Linked DNA regions of Homo sapiens: all the other regions are linked to region 1. The links are contacts of gene promoters, found by promoter capture Hi-C in human tissues and cell types (Jung and others, 2019). All regions are on one chromosome and are shown on one strand. Each heading gives the region's core, a stretch centred on a gene start or on the middle of the fragment in contact. The rest is flanking DNA. Distances are from core to core; before and after follow the strand shown.

The links. Contacts are between HindIII fragments. The study calls those that stand out against the background at their distance.
Region 2: a contact is called between a fragment that was not itself captured here and the fragment with the promoter of AGXT in region 1, in 1 of the 25 tissues and cell types used here (aorta).
Region 3: a contact is called between a fragment that was not itself captured here and the fragment with the promoter of AGXT in region 1, in 1 of the 25 tissues and cell types used here (lymphoblastoid cells).

Annotation. Positions count from the first base shown.
Region 1 is chr2:240,866,446-240,870,286 of GRCh38, forward strand. AGXT (alanine--glyoxylate aminotransferase) reads left to right here and starts at 2,379. Exons shown (of 11, transcript NM_000030.3): 1 at 2,379-2,585; 2 at 2,725-2,917. The coding sequence starts at 2,421. RefSeq lists an enhancer at 1,898-2,398. The HindIII fragment of the contact is 24,692 bases long and covers 1-3,841 here.
Region 2 is chr2:241,367,386-241,371,226 of GRCh38, forward strand. All of the region lies in intron 1 of FARP2 (FERM, ARH/RhoGEF and pleckstrin domain protein 2), which reads left to right. LOC105373973 (a long non-coding RNA gene) reads right to left here. Exons shown (of 3, transcript XR_924066.2): 2 at 2,990-3,152. Among named protein-coding and RNA genes, the nearest start is that of FARP2, 13 kb to the left of the region's middle. The HindIII fragment of the contact is 3,975 bases long and covers 244-3,841 here.
Region 3 is chr2:240,517,996-240,521,836 of GRCh38, forward strand. It overlaps ANKMY1 (ankyrin repeat and MYND domain containing 1), which reads right to left. Exons shown (of 18, transcript NM_001282771.3): 9 at 2,367-2,538. Among named protein-coding and RNA genes, the nearest start is that of ANKMY1, 38 kb to the right of the region's middle. The HindIII fragment of the contact is 6,500 bases long and covers 1-3,841 here.

The DNA of each region.
Region 1 (3,841 bases), core at 1,129-3,628:
TTAAACCCTTTTCAAGCTTTGGCCCTATCCCACCTTGATCATTCTCTTCACTATGGTGATTGTAGCCTGGGAACAATAGCTCCCACCCAAATCACTGTCTTAAACATCACTTCTAATTCAGAATTCCCTTCTAGAAGGAAAAGGGCCCTGGGACTTACTGTGGCCGGAGTTGTGGGAACTATCACAACTCTTACCCCTTGGGGAGGTTTTACTTACCAGGAAATCACAAGTAAGAGAACCTACCGCCTCCCTTGAAATAGCAAAAGCTGGCACCCATCTATCAGCTCTACAAGTCATTAGACTCACAAGCAGGATTTTGGTGTCTGGTAACAGGTGAGTTCTGGATTACCTCCTAGCTGAACAAGGAGGGGTCTGTGCTGTCATCAACAGGACCCGTTGCACCTACATTTATGTGTCTGGAGAAGTGGAAACCGATGCCCAAGAAATCATCAAACAAGCCAAATGGCTACACACACTTTCCCAAAGCAACCAAGACTGGGCCAAAACTTTTACTGATTGGTTTTCAAAAAATCACTTGGCTTCCCCCATTCCTTAGACCTTTATCTTCTGTCATTTTTCTTTTAATATTTGGTCCCTGCCTTTTTAATGCTCTGATTGCTTTTCTATGTTCTACATGAGAACAATTCCACCTGCAGAAGGCTATGCATTCCCAACACTGGCCTGCAACTGCAGCTCGATTTACATGGGGCTTCTTGATGGAAATACCGGCCTGCAACTGCAGCTCCCATTTACGTGGGGCTTCTTGATGGAATCCCATCACGTGCCTCCGTGCACAAGTTTTCATGACCCTTTATTCCCTTCATGACCGAGAGCAAGAAAGGGAAAAACGTGACCTACCCCCCTGAACTCCCTTTCAGCAGCAAGTAGTCAGGCGCACTGGACACCCCTCTTCACTGTGCCGTTTCCCCTTTCTTGAGACCCCAACAGGAAGCAGGTGGACATGAGCATGGCAGAAAAGGAAGGGTCAAAGATTTCACCAAGATATTTGTCAGAGGGAAAATGAGGACAGCAAAGATCACCTGGAGACCATCAAGCAGGCCCCAGGTGGGGTGGGTGGAGGGGAGCCTCTTTATTTGAGAAATGTAGAATGAATTAGACTTCCCTATTATCTAAAGTTGGCACCTGGTTCCAGGCCTCTTTTCAACCTAAAACTTATACATAACTAGAATTTCTATACATCTCTGGAATGCAGCATGCTGAAACTCACTGTGCAACCCCTGCCTTGTGTGTGTCTGTATACCATGCAGGTTTGCTTGCTAAATTGAGCCTGTAAACCAAAAAGTACCTCAAACAGGTCTCAATTAATTTAGAAAGTTTTTGTTGCCAAGGCTAAGGATGCACCCGTGGTACAGCCTCAGGAGGGAGGACATCCTTGCCAAGCTCAAGGGTGCACCCCTGACCACAAGGGCCCAAGGTGGTCGGGGCACAGCTTGCTTTTATACATTTTAGGGAGATATGAGGCATCAATCAATACATGGGAGATTTACATTGGTTCCATCTGGAAGGGCGGGACAACTTGAATTGGGGGGCTTCCAGGTCATAGGTAGATTTAAACATATTTTGATTGGCAACTGACTGAAGAATTATTATCAGCAGAAAGGAGTGTCTGGGTTATGAAATAGGGGTTGCAGGGAGCAGATGATGCCTTCAGGTAGCGGGATTTAGAGAGAAAATAGATGGTAAATGCTTCCTATCAGACTTAAGGTCTATGTCGATGTTAATGCTGGGGGTTATGATGTGGCATGGCCTGAACGTCTTCCGGGTTAAAGTTTAGAGCACCCTGGCGGACAGGGAACCCCATTCAGATGGTTGCTGGGGGGCCTTCGAATTTTATTTTTGGTTTACAAGCCTTCCCATCAGCTGCGCCAGGGTCAGCAAACCACAGTCCATGGGCCCAATCTGGCCTGCCACCTGCTTTTTGTAAATAAAGTTTTATAGGAACACGCCCACACCTCTGGCAGCTGCTTTGCAAGCACGCAGCAGGGTTGAGTTGTTGCAACATAGACCACAGGGCCTGCCAAGCCTCAATTATCTGTGCTCCGACCCTTTAAGAAACACTTCTCTCACCCCTGAGCTAAGCAGAATAAGAGGGGCTGGACGTGCAGGACTCAGAGTGGGAGCGAGGAGGGCTGGGGTGAGGACAGCTTTGTCACACTCTGTTTTTCTGTCACTCAGCCCTGGGGGCTCCCTCTGCCTGAGGGCTTCGTCCCCTGCTGCCTGGCCGTGACCCGCAGCACAAGCACAGATAAGCCTCAGGGAACAAAAGGCAGGGCTGCCACGGAAGCCCATCCACCAATCCTCACCTCTCACCTCTGTGTCCGCCCTGCTGGGAAATATTCCAGGCTTTGGCCAAGGCCAGTGCAGCCCCAGGTTCCCGAGCGGCAGGTTGGGTGCGGACCATGGCCTCTCACAAGCTGCTGGTGACCCCCCCCAAGGCCCTGCTCAAGCCCCTCTCCATCCCCAACCAGCTCCTGCTGGGGCCTGGTCCTTCCAACCTGCCTCCTCGCATCATGGCAGCCGGGGGGCTGCAGATGATCGGGTCCATGAGCAAGGATATGTACCAGGTAGGAGTGGGGGTCACTCGGGGGGCCTGGGTCTCACCCATGTTCCCACCCACAGATCGTGGACGAGGGAAGGGGGTCACTGCCTCCTCACTTGGGGAGGCGGGGAGCCTGGGTCTCACCCTATACCACCCGCATGCAGATCATGGACGAGATCAAGGAAGGCATCCAGTACGTGTTCCAGACCAGGAACCCACTCACACTGGTCATCTCTGGCTCGGGACACTGTGCCCTGGAGGCCGCCCTGGTCAATGTGCTGGAGCCTGGGGACTCCTTCCTGGTTGGGGCCAATGGCATTTGGGGGCAGCGAGCCGTGGACATCGGGGAGCGCATAGGTAAGGGAGAGGCCCAGGTGGGGATGGCCCTGGATCCATCCTTCAAGGCCTCCCTGGCCTCCCTCTGTTTGAAGCTGGCAGCCCCCGTTCCTGGGTGAGCGCTTACCCACCTTGTGGCCCTGTGCGCACGAACCTCCTGCCAGCCCACTGCCTCCTCCAGGCGGTGTCGGGCACTCATGAGGCCTGACTCTGATAGGGCTGGGAGCAGCACAGGTGCCCCGATCCCCCCAGTCTCCTTGAGCTGTTTCTGGAGCATGTGCAGGACGGAACTACAGGGAAGCCTCTGGTCCCAGCACACACTCCTGAGAGCCCCGGCCGCTGTCCAGGGCCCCAGGCACCAGCTCTGCTTTGTGACAGGGTGGGGTTTCAGAAGCTGAAGCCTCCCCTCAAATCTCAGCAGCCTTCCTTCTGGAATCTTGATGTGATACACAAAATATGGAGGTATGGGCAGAGTATTCGCCTCCGGAGTACACTTTTCTGGGAGAGACACAGGAGCAGGAGTGTGCCCTGGGTTTAATGATTGATTGTGGCATTGAGGGACATCAGCTTGGTGAGCTCCACAATGGCCATGCTGGTTAATACGCGACCGCAACAGCCAAGAGGGTCCCAACCCCAAGTCCACAAACTTTTCAAGGGGACCCAGGGTCGGCAGAGGCCAGGACCCCAAGTGGACATCAGGGCACGCAGGCTCAGATGCCTGTGGTATATGGCTTCCCTTTTCCCCATTCTGTCCCCTTGGCCGCAGGTTCTTCCCCTCCCACAACCTGGCCCTGAACAGCACACAGGATAGGGCAGAGACAGGGAGGGGGTGAGGGCCTGATTCCTGGAGTCCCCAGCTCCAACAGAGGTCAAGGCTGCTGCCTCACTCACCCCTCATCCTTCAGTCTGTCATCCATCACACCTGTGGTGTGCCAGCCCTGGACC
Region 2 (3,841 bases), core at 981-3,480, 500 kb after region 1:
GCTTCCTCACATTGACTATTTAGTTCCTTATTCTAAAAGTTACTAATGCTTAGAAAGAGAATAAAGAAGGATCCGTCTCTTGCTGTGCTGCAGTAAAGAGGTAATGCGCCCCAGGGCCGAGGGATTGAGGAGGAATTCCATTTGAACATCATCAGCAGTGAAGTTTCTTCCCAATGCTGCAGTGGACTTTCATATTAGATGAGTGTAGTGAAATATTAAGTTCATATTCTGGTTTCTTGGGTTGGTCGTAGAGGAGTTTAGTTTTTTATTTTCCCAAAGCAGACAGTGAAAAATATTTTAGGAAAGGTGATTTTTTTTAAATTGCAAAATAGAAATGTTAGCCTCTACCCGTTACTGTGGATGGTGGACTATGCTTTTGTCTAAAAAGCCATGTGCTGATTTTCCAGCAGAAGGGGAAGAGTTTTGGTAGCCAAGTCTGGGCCCAAGTCCTAGCTCTGTCACTTCTGAGTTATTTGTTCCTTGGCAGGCCTTTTTTTTTTTAATAGATTTTATTTTTTAGAGCAGTTTTAGGTTAATAGCAAAATTAAGCAGGAGATAAAGAGATTTTCCATATACCCTCCACCCCCACATACACACAGCATCCCCTACTGTCAACATTTGTCACTAGAGTGGTCCATTTGTTACAAACCTACTCAGTACATCATTATCACCCAAAGCTTTGGCAGACTTTTGAGCTGAATTTTCCAACTTTAAAATGGAAATGACATGTCACGGGGTTTTCTTTTATTATTAAATGAGACTATACCCACAAGAGCCGAGTTTGTAGTAGGCAGGACCAAATGTCAGTAGTGCAAATTGTATCGGCCACCAGAAATGTTTTTAGGAATGAAGACTGCAAAGCATTTCATTCACGTTGAAAGAAGATGGCACAATAAGCTGAGTCCCCCACAGATTCTTGGTTGTTTACTTTGCCACTTTCCTCTGGGTATCTGGGAGGTTTCGCTGGCAGGAGCAGGGATGGGCAGAGGTTGGCACCAGGTTCCTGGGACCACAGAACATGGTGCGCCAAGGACTGTTCATGGCCTTGCCGTGTTCCTAGTCTAGCCTGTGTGTTCTTGCCTCTTTAATACTTGTTTATAAGCGCACAAAGCAAAACAAATGTAATTTTCATTAGTCAAAATTTATGTGAAACAGCCTCAGCCTCCCGAGTAGCTGGGATTGACAGGCTTTGACACCGAGGTTAACCGACAGTCACAACAATGGGGTTACCTGCCGGTATTCTATTAATGTATTTTTTTACATTTCTTTAGAGATAGAGTCTCACTATGTTGCCCAGGCTGGTTTCAAACTGCTATTCTCAAGTGATCCTCCCACCTCAGTCTCCTGAGTAGCTGAGATTATAGGTGTGCGCCACTATTCCTGGCTTTATTAAGGTCTTTTTAAGTTTTCATAAGCTTAGTAATAAACTTAAAGTCTTAAACTTAAGTCTTAGTCTTAAATTTAGTGTTAAAGTCTTAAATATAAGTCTTAGTCTTAATCTTAAAGCTGAGTAATTATTAAACGGATAGTTTATGCCACGTTACTATTATGTGACAACAAACAGATTTTTCTTTGGGATATCAGCAACAGAGTACCACAGGGTCATCTCCTCTCAAGTGAATCTGTCTTCTTAAGATCAGTCTCATGAACAAGGGTATCTTGTTGTGGCCCTGCATCTCAGCTGCAGCCATGTTGACGTCTGTCTGGGCTAAATGAAAATGAGGATGTAAGTCGCTGCTTGGAAAGTGTGCAAACGTGTAAAGATTTCCTCTGTGAGCCACATATTTGAGAAGAGAGTTTGATATTCCTTAAGCTAGGAAAAGTGTTTTTTATTTGTCTAGTGTGTCATGTTCTCGTGGAAGAGGAAGCAATGTTAAAAAACTTGTTTTAAACATTTTTGTTATAAAATAAACACACATAAAAACATGAATCAGATATATGGCTTAATGAATTATAAAATGAACACTGTCCAGATCAAGAAATAAAACTGTGCCCTGCCCACCTAAGAACTCCTTCTCTGTGTTCCATCCCAGTGACAGTCCCTCTCTCCCATCAAGAAGGGACCACTTTAGTAATAACTTCCTGGTGTTTTCTCTTTATGGTTTTATCAGTGGAATGTGCACCTCTAGGGAGTACAGGTTAGTCTTGTCTATTTTTTTTTTTTAGCAGTAGATGTTTAGACATGACTTTCTTATAATGAGTAGAAGAGAAAGAACCTGAAGAAATTTTTAAAGCTATACTTAAGAAAACATAAATGAGAATTATACAGTAGAATAAATAAGAGAAATGACTTCTAAAAATGTATTTCAGTTGTATAAATGTTTACAGATTTGTAGCATTACTTAAGGGAAAGAATGCCTTTGGTGACCAAAGTAAAACATCCTATCCTTTGTTTCAGAAGAACCCACTGTTGGTGGTTCTATATTTAATAAATGTTGTGAGCTGACCAAGAACATATAGATCACTTATTTTTATTTTCATGTTTTCACGTTGGAGGAACCTTCAAAGTGGAAGTCTTCTTCATTTGCATTCTCTTACTTTTGCATTAACTACTCAATAAATAAAAGTTTGTGAAAAAGACAAATATCATATATTCTCACTCATATGTGGGAACTGAAAAAAAGTGATGGTTACCAGAGGTTGGGAAGGGTAGTAGGGGGTGGGAAATTAAGAAGGATTAATTAATGGGTACAAAAATGCAGTAAGAAGAAATAAGATCTATTGTTTGGTAGCACAATAGGGCAACTATAGTTAATACCTTATTGTATATTTCAAAATAACTGGAGGAGTGGATTTGGAATGTTCCCAACAGAAAGAATTTGTAAATGTTTGAGGTCGAGGATATCCCAAATACCCTAATTTGACCATTACACATTGTTTGCTTGTATAAGGATACAAAACTTGAGTTAGACAGCAGTTTAGAAGATCTATTATATAGCATGGTGACTCTAGTTAGTATTGTATTTCTGAAAATTGCTAAGATACATACCGTATTTCTGAACATTACTAATTTTTGTGGATTTTAAGTGTTCTCACCACAAAAAATTTGAAGTTTGTGAGGTCTTGCATATGTTAATTGCCTCAATTTGGCCATCCCGTAGTGTAGACATATTTCAGGGCATCATGTTGTACATGATAAGTATATACAATTTCTGTCAATTAAAAAATAAGAAAAAAAATCACATACCCCATAAACATGTACAATTATGCACTCATAAAAATTAAGTAAAAGTTTGTGGAACTGAAATGAAAAGGCTCGTTTATGATTCTCAGAACTTCATATATCTCATGTTTAATATTAGTGTTGCAAAAACGGTAATTTTGTTAAAGTGTTGTTCTGTTTGTGGTTGTAGTCTTTTGTCTTTTGCTGTTATCATCTTTACAGTACATTTCATGATGTACCAGTTCATGTTTTTTGGTGCCAGTGACATTAAGTAAATACTTAGCAAATGTTTACAGTAAGAATTTAGTTCCTTCCCTCAAGGAGCATCCAGCATGGAGAAAGACAGCTGAAGATGATGGGTAACTGCCAACCTGTGCCAAACGTGCAGCTCAGGTAATAAATGTGTCAGTCAGTGGCTTTGTTTAGGAATTAGGATGGGACCTTGCACTGCCTTGTTGTTTTGTTCATAGTACTCACATTTTGCTTCTCCCGGAGGATTTAGCTCTTCATTTTTTGCTTTCTTGTTTGATAAATTGGACGTGTGCAGAAGTTCAAAAGGTTGTCTTTGTGGGTAAGGTTTAAGTGTACAGTAGGAAATGCCTGGCAGTAAGTCACTGAGAGCCTATTTGAAATTAAGAGATTAAAAAGGTTCTTTTCTAGGTGTGGTGGCTCGCCTGT
Region 3 (3,841 bases), core at 994-3,493, 350 kb before region 1:
GACACCCATGGTGTGCAGCTGCCCACGACGCCCCTCCTCAGCATGAAGCAGCGAGACGGATGCGTGGCCTGATTCCTCATGATTGAGGAATTGACGAATGGGGGGGAAGGGTGTTGAAACGGGCCCAATTGTCCCATAGAACTGATGTCTATGGTTTCTTTTAAATAAACATAGAAATTGACCCTTCCATTCTTTAAAACTTGGGAACGTTACATTTGTCTTATCTGAGCTCCTTCCTCAGGAAACCAACCAGCAGTCCTCCTAAATAGTATCAAGGAACAGAGACTCACTAGATCACAGCATCTGGACAGTGAGACCCTAGACCCCTCACCCATCATGCCTGCCTCTGGGACCACCAGCTTCTTGCTGACCAACTCTTTTTTCTTAGCCCTCCTAATTCCTGCTTTCCCACACGTGGTTATATTTCTTCCCTGCTATGAAACCCCCAATTTTAGTCGGTTGAGGACAGGGTTTGAGAACAATCTCCTGCTCTCCCTGGTGCAGCACCCAATTAAAGCCTTCTTCTCTGGCAGTACCTGTCATCTCACTGATTGGCTTTCTGTGCAGTAAGCAGCAGGATCTAGACCGAACCCCTGGCGTTTTGGTGACATGTTCATTTCTGAACCCACTCAAATATTTTAATTTTTAAAAACTTTCTATTTGAAAGATAAATGTGTAAATAATACATTCCTGATCAGCTATGAACAGGTGAATAAACATGTGACACAGTGAAGGATGTCCGTGCCCAGTTTAAAGGTTGTGACCTTAATCAGTTTCAAAGACGGAGTCCAATCAGTAAACCTAAAAAGGTATGAAATTATCCTGAGTCTTAAACCAAAAATTCTGTTTTCTGTGTAATCTTACACTTGGAAGAAAAGTTTAATTTCCAAGCTGAAAGGCTGTGCACTAAGGGGCCTGGACAGTGAGACCCGCCTGCCCTCAAACACTCAATGCCGCCTGAGTGACAACTGGCAAGGCTGGTGCCCAGAGAGAGCCATCAGCTCTCACCCCATCAACACCCTGTGAAGAAGGTAAAGTGCTGAAACGATGGACGAGTGTTTACACAACCGGAGAAGAAAAACAAAATCTACAAATAAATTTCACAGCCAAGTGGACAGAAGCCCATCATGGGTCTGCATAATGGGCCCCCTGTTCTGGGGGCACCCAAAGGTGGCCCTGGTGCCAGTTCGTCACCCATCTGGAATCTTCACAGCCACTGTGGACAGCAGTGGTTTCTTGAGTGTGGATGGGTGGATGCACTGAACGGAAAATTGTGATGGGGTTGGTCTAGATGTTAAATTAGAGAAATGATTGTAGGGTCCTTCAAAATACAAAGAGAAAGAATGACAACAAGGGTTCAGGCAAAGGGATGAAATACAACAGATAACGTCACGTTAAAGTGAACAGGAAACGCCGCAGTGAGCCCACGCTTGCTGTCATACTTCCATCTCGCCCCATCCCCTGTGAACCTAACGAGGCCCTCATGGACTGACGGAGCTGCGAGAGAAGCCTGGCCTCACCCCAGACGCCTCTGAGAGGAGGAGCAGTCATGGGCAGCGACCGATTCCATTCCAGAGCAGTGGAAATTCGGGAAGGAAGCCCTTCCAGCAGCTGTGCTGTGGGAAGGGCTGCAGGAATCTGGGGCCAAGCACGGGGGTACACACTGCCCAGGGGGACAGGTGGGAAAAGGAGAGTTGTTTGAACGAGCTAAGCCCATAAAGCCCTGAGTCCCCAGTGAAACTCAGCAGAAACACTAAACTTTCTTCGAAGAACTAGCAGGCTAATTTATTCCAGAGCAAAATGCCCTGTGAAGCCGCTTGCTCACGGGTGGGTGTGGCCTCAGAGAGGGAAGAAGCCGTCCGCTGGGAAAGGCACTTCTTAAGAAAAAAAATATAAAATCAGATTCCCCTTCGAAGATTTTTTCTCAGCTAAATATTTTGCGGCTGGATCTGTTGAGCTAAAGATAAAACCTCAGCACCAAAACCCTTTGCCTCTCCTGCCTGCGTCCTTGTGATGCTGAGCGTGGGTTGAAAGGAGGCCCGCCTCCTCCTGAATATAAGTCTCCCCTTTCCAAGGGGCCTTCAGGATGCGCTTCCCCTTAGTTTGCTTCAACACTGGGAAAAAAATCACACGGATCGTGAAGTACTCTAAAAACTAGCTCGGTGTCCAAATCCTGTCTGGGGACATGGGTGAAAGAGCGGGCTGTGGGACCCCCCACTGCGGCGCGCCGTCATCACTCACAGCCCAGGTGGTCGCCTGCAAGAGCCCACCCCTCTCTTCCGCGCCTAGGTGGAGCGAGGAGCTTCCCGGCCAGTGCCCGGGAGTCTGCTGCGCTCGTCCCGGCGCCCGCCCGCCGCGGCTCCTACCTGCGGCGGAAAGCAGATGTCGGTCCTCGCCCCGTGCTCCAGCAGCAGCCTCACCCCATCCACGTCCCCGGCCTTCACAGCAAGGAACAGGACCTGCATGGGCACGCAGCACAGGTTGGGGTCCGCGCCCCGGCGCAGCAGCAGCTTGATGGTCCGCCAGCGCTTCCTCCGCCTGAAAAAGACGGTGCGCCCGTGGGCCCCTGGAGGGCAGGCACCTGCACTGCGCCCAGAACGGGGCCATGCCAGCGAGGAGGCTGGGGAGGGGCGCGTAGGGAGTATGTGTGTGCCGCAACTACACAATCACACACACAGCACACACCCACACACGCAGACACACCACACAGCACACAACTACACACAAGCCACACCAGAGCGCACACACACGGCACACACAGCACACCACACAGCACACTCACAACCACACCCACAGCACACCACACAGTACACACAGCACACAACCCCACACACAAGCCACACCAGAGCGCACACACCATAGCACAGCGCACACCACACAGTACGCACACGGCACACCACACACCAGAGCACACAAACCACACTACACATACAGCACACAACCACACAAACCACACACACACCACACACACCACTCACACCACAAAGACACAAACACACAGGCGCACACACACCTCTGAGGGGTCACTGAAAGGCTGGCCAGGTCAGGAGTAAACTGTGCCTCCAGAGAAAACTTGGGCCTCAAGAGAGGCTGGGACCAGGTGGGTGGGGGTTGTGCAGCCGCGCAGGGCTGAGGGAGGAGGGGACTGGGGGTAGGGGGCCCAGATGGCAGCGGGAATGACCATGAGGGCAGGGCAGGTGTAGGATCGAGCCAAGCCCACTGGCCCTGCAGTAGGCACAGAATCGGAGCCGCGGGAACTAGATCGTCCTTGAGCACTTGAGCAGCAGCCTCCAGCCCAGTCTCCAGACCCGTCTCCAGACCCTGACCACTCGGAAGCCCAGGGAGCTGCGTTGACGTGGGTGCTGGCTCTCCTTGTCTGCCGCTACCATGTAAAGCTCAAAAACTGTCAAAACATGTCCAGGATCTATGCCTTTCTGGTGGGTTGTTGGTCTCGCTGACTTCAAGAATGAAGTCGCGGAACTCGCGGTGTTACAGCTTTTTTTTTTTTTTTTTTTTTTTTTTTTGAGACAGTCTCGCCCTGTCGCCCAGGCTGGAGTGCAGTGGCGCGATGCCACTCACTGCAAGCTCCGCCTCCCAGGTTCAAGTTATTCTCCTGCCTCAGCCTCCCAAGTAGCCGGGACTACAGGCACCCGCCACCACGCCTGGCTAATTTTTTGTATTTTTAGTAGAGACGGGGTTTCACCGTGTTAGCCAGGATGGTCTCCATCTCCTGACCTCGTGATCCACCTGCCTCGGCCTCCCAAAGTGCTGGGATTACAGGAGTGAGCCACTGCGCCTGGCCCCCCTTTACAGCTCTTAAACATGGTGTGTCTGGAATTTC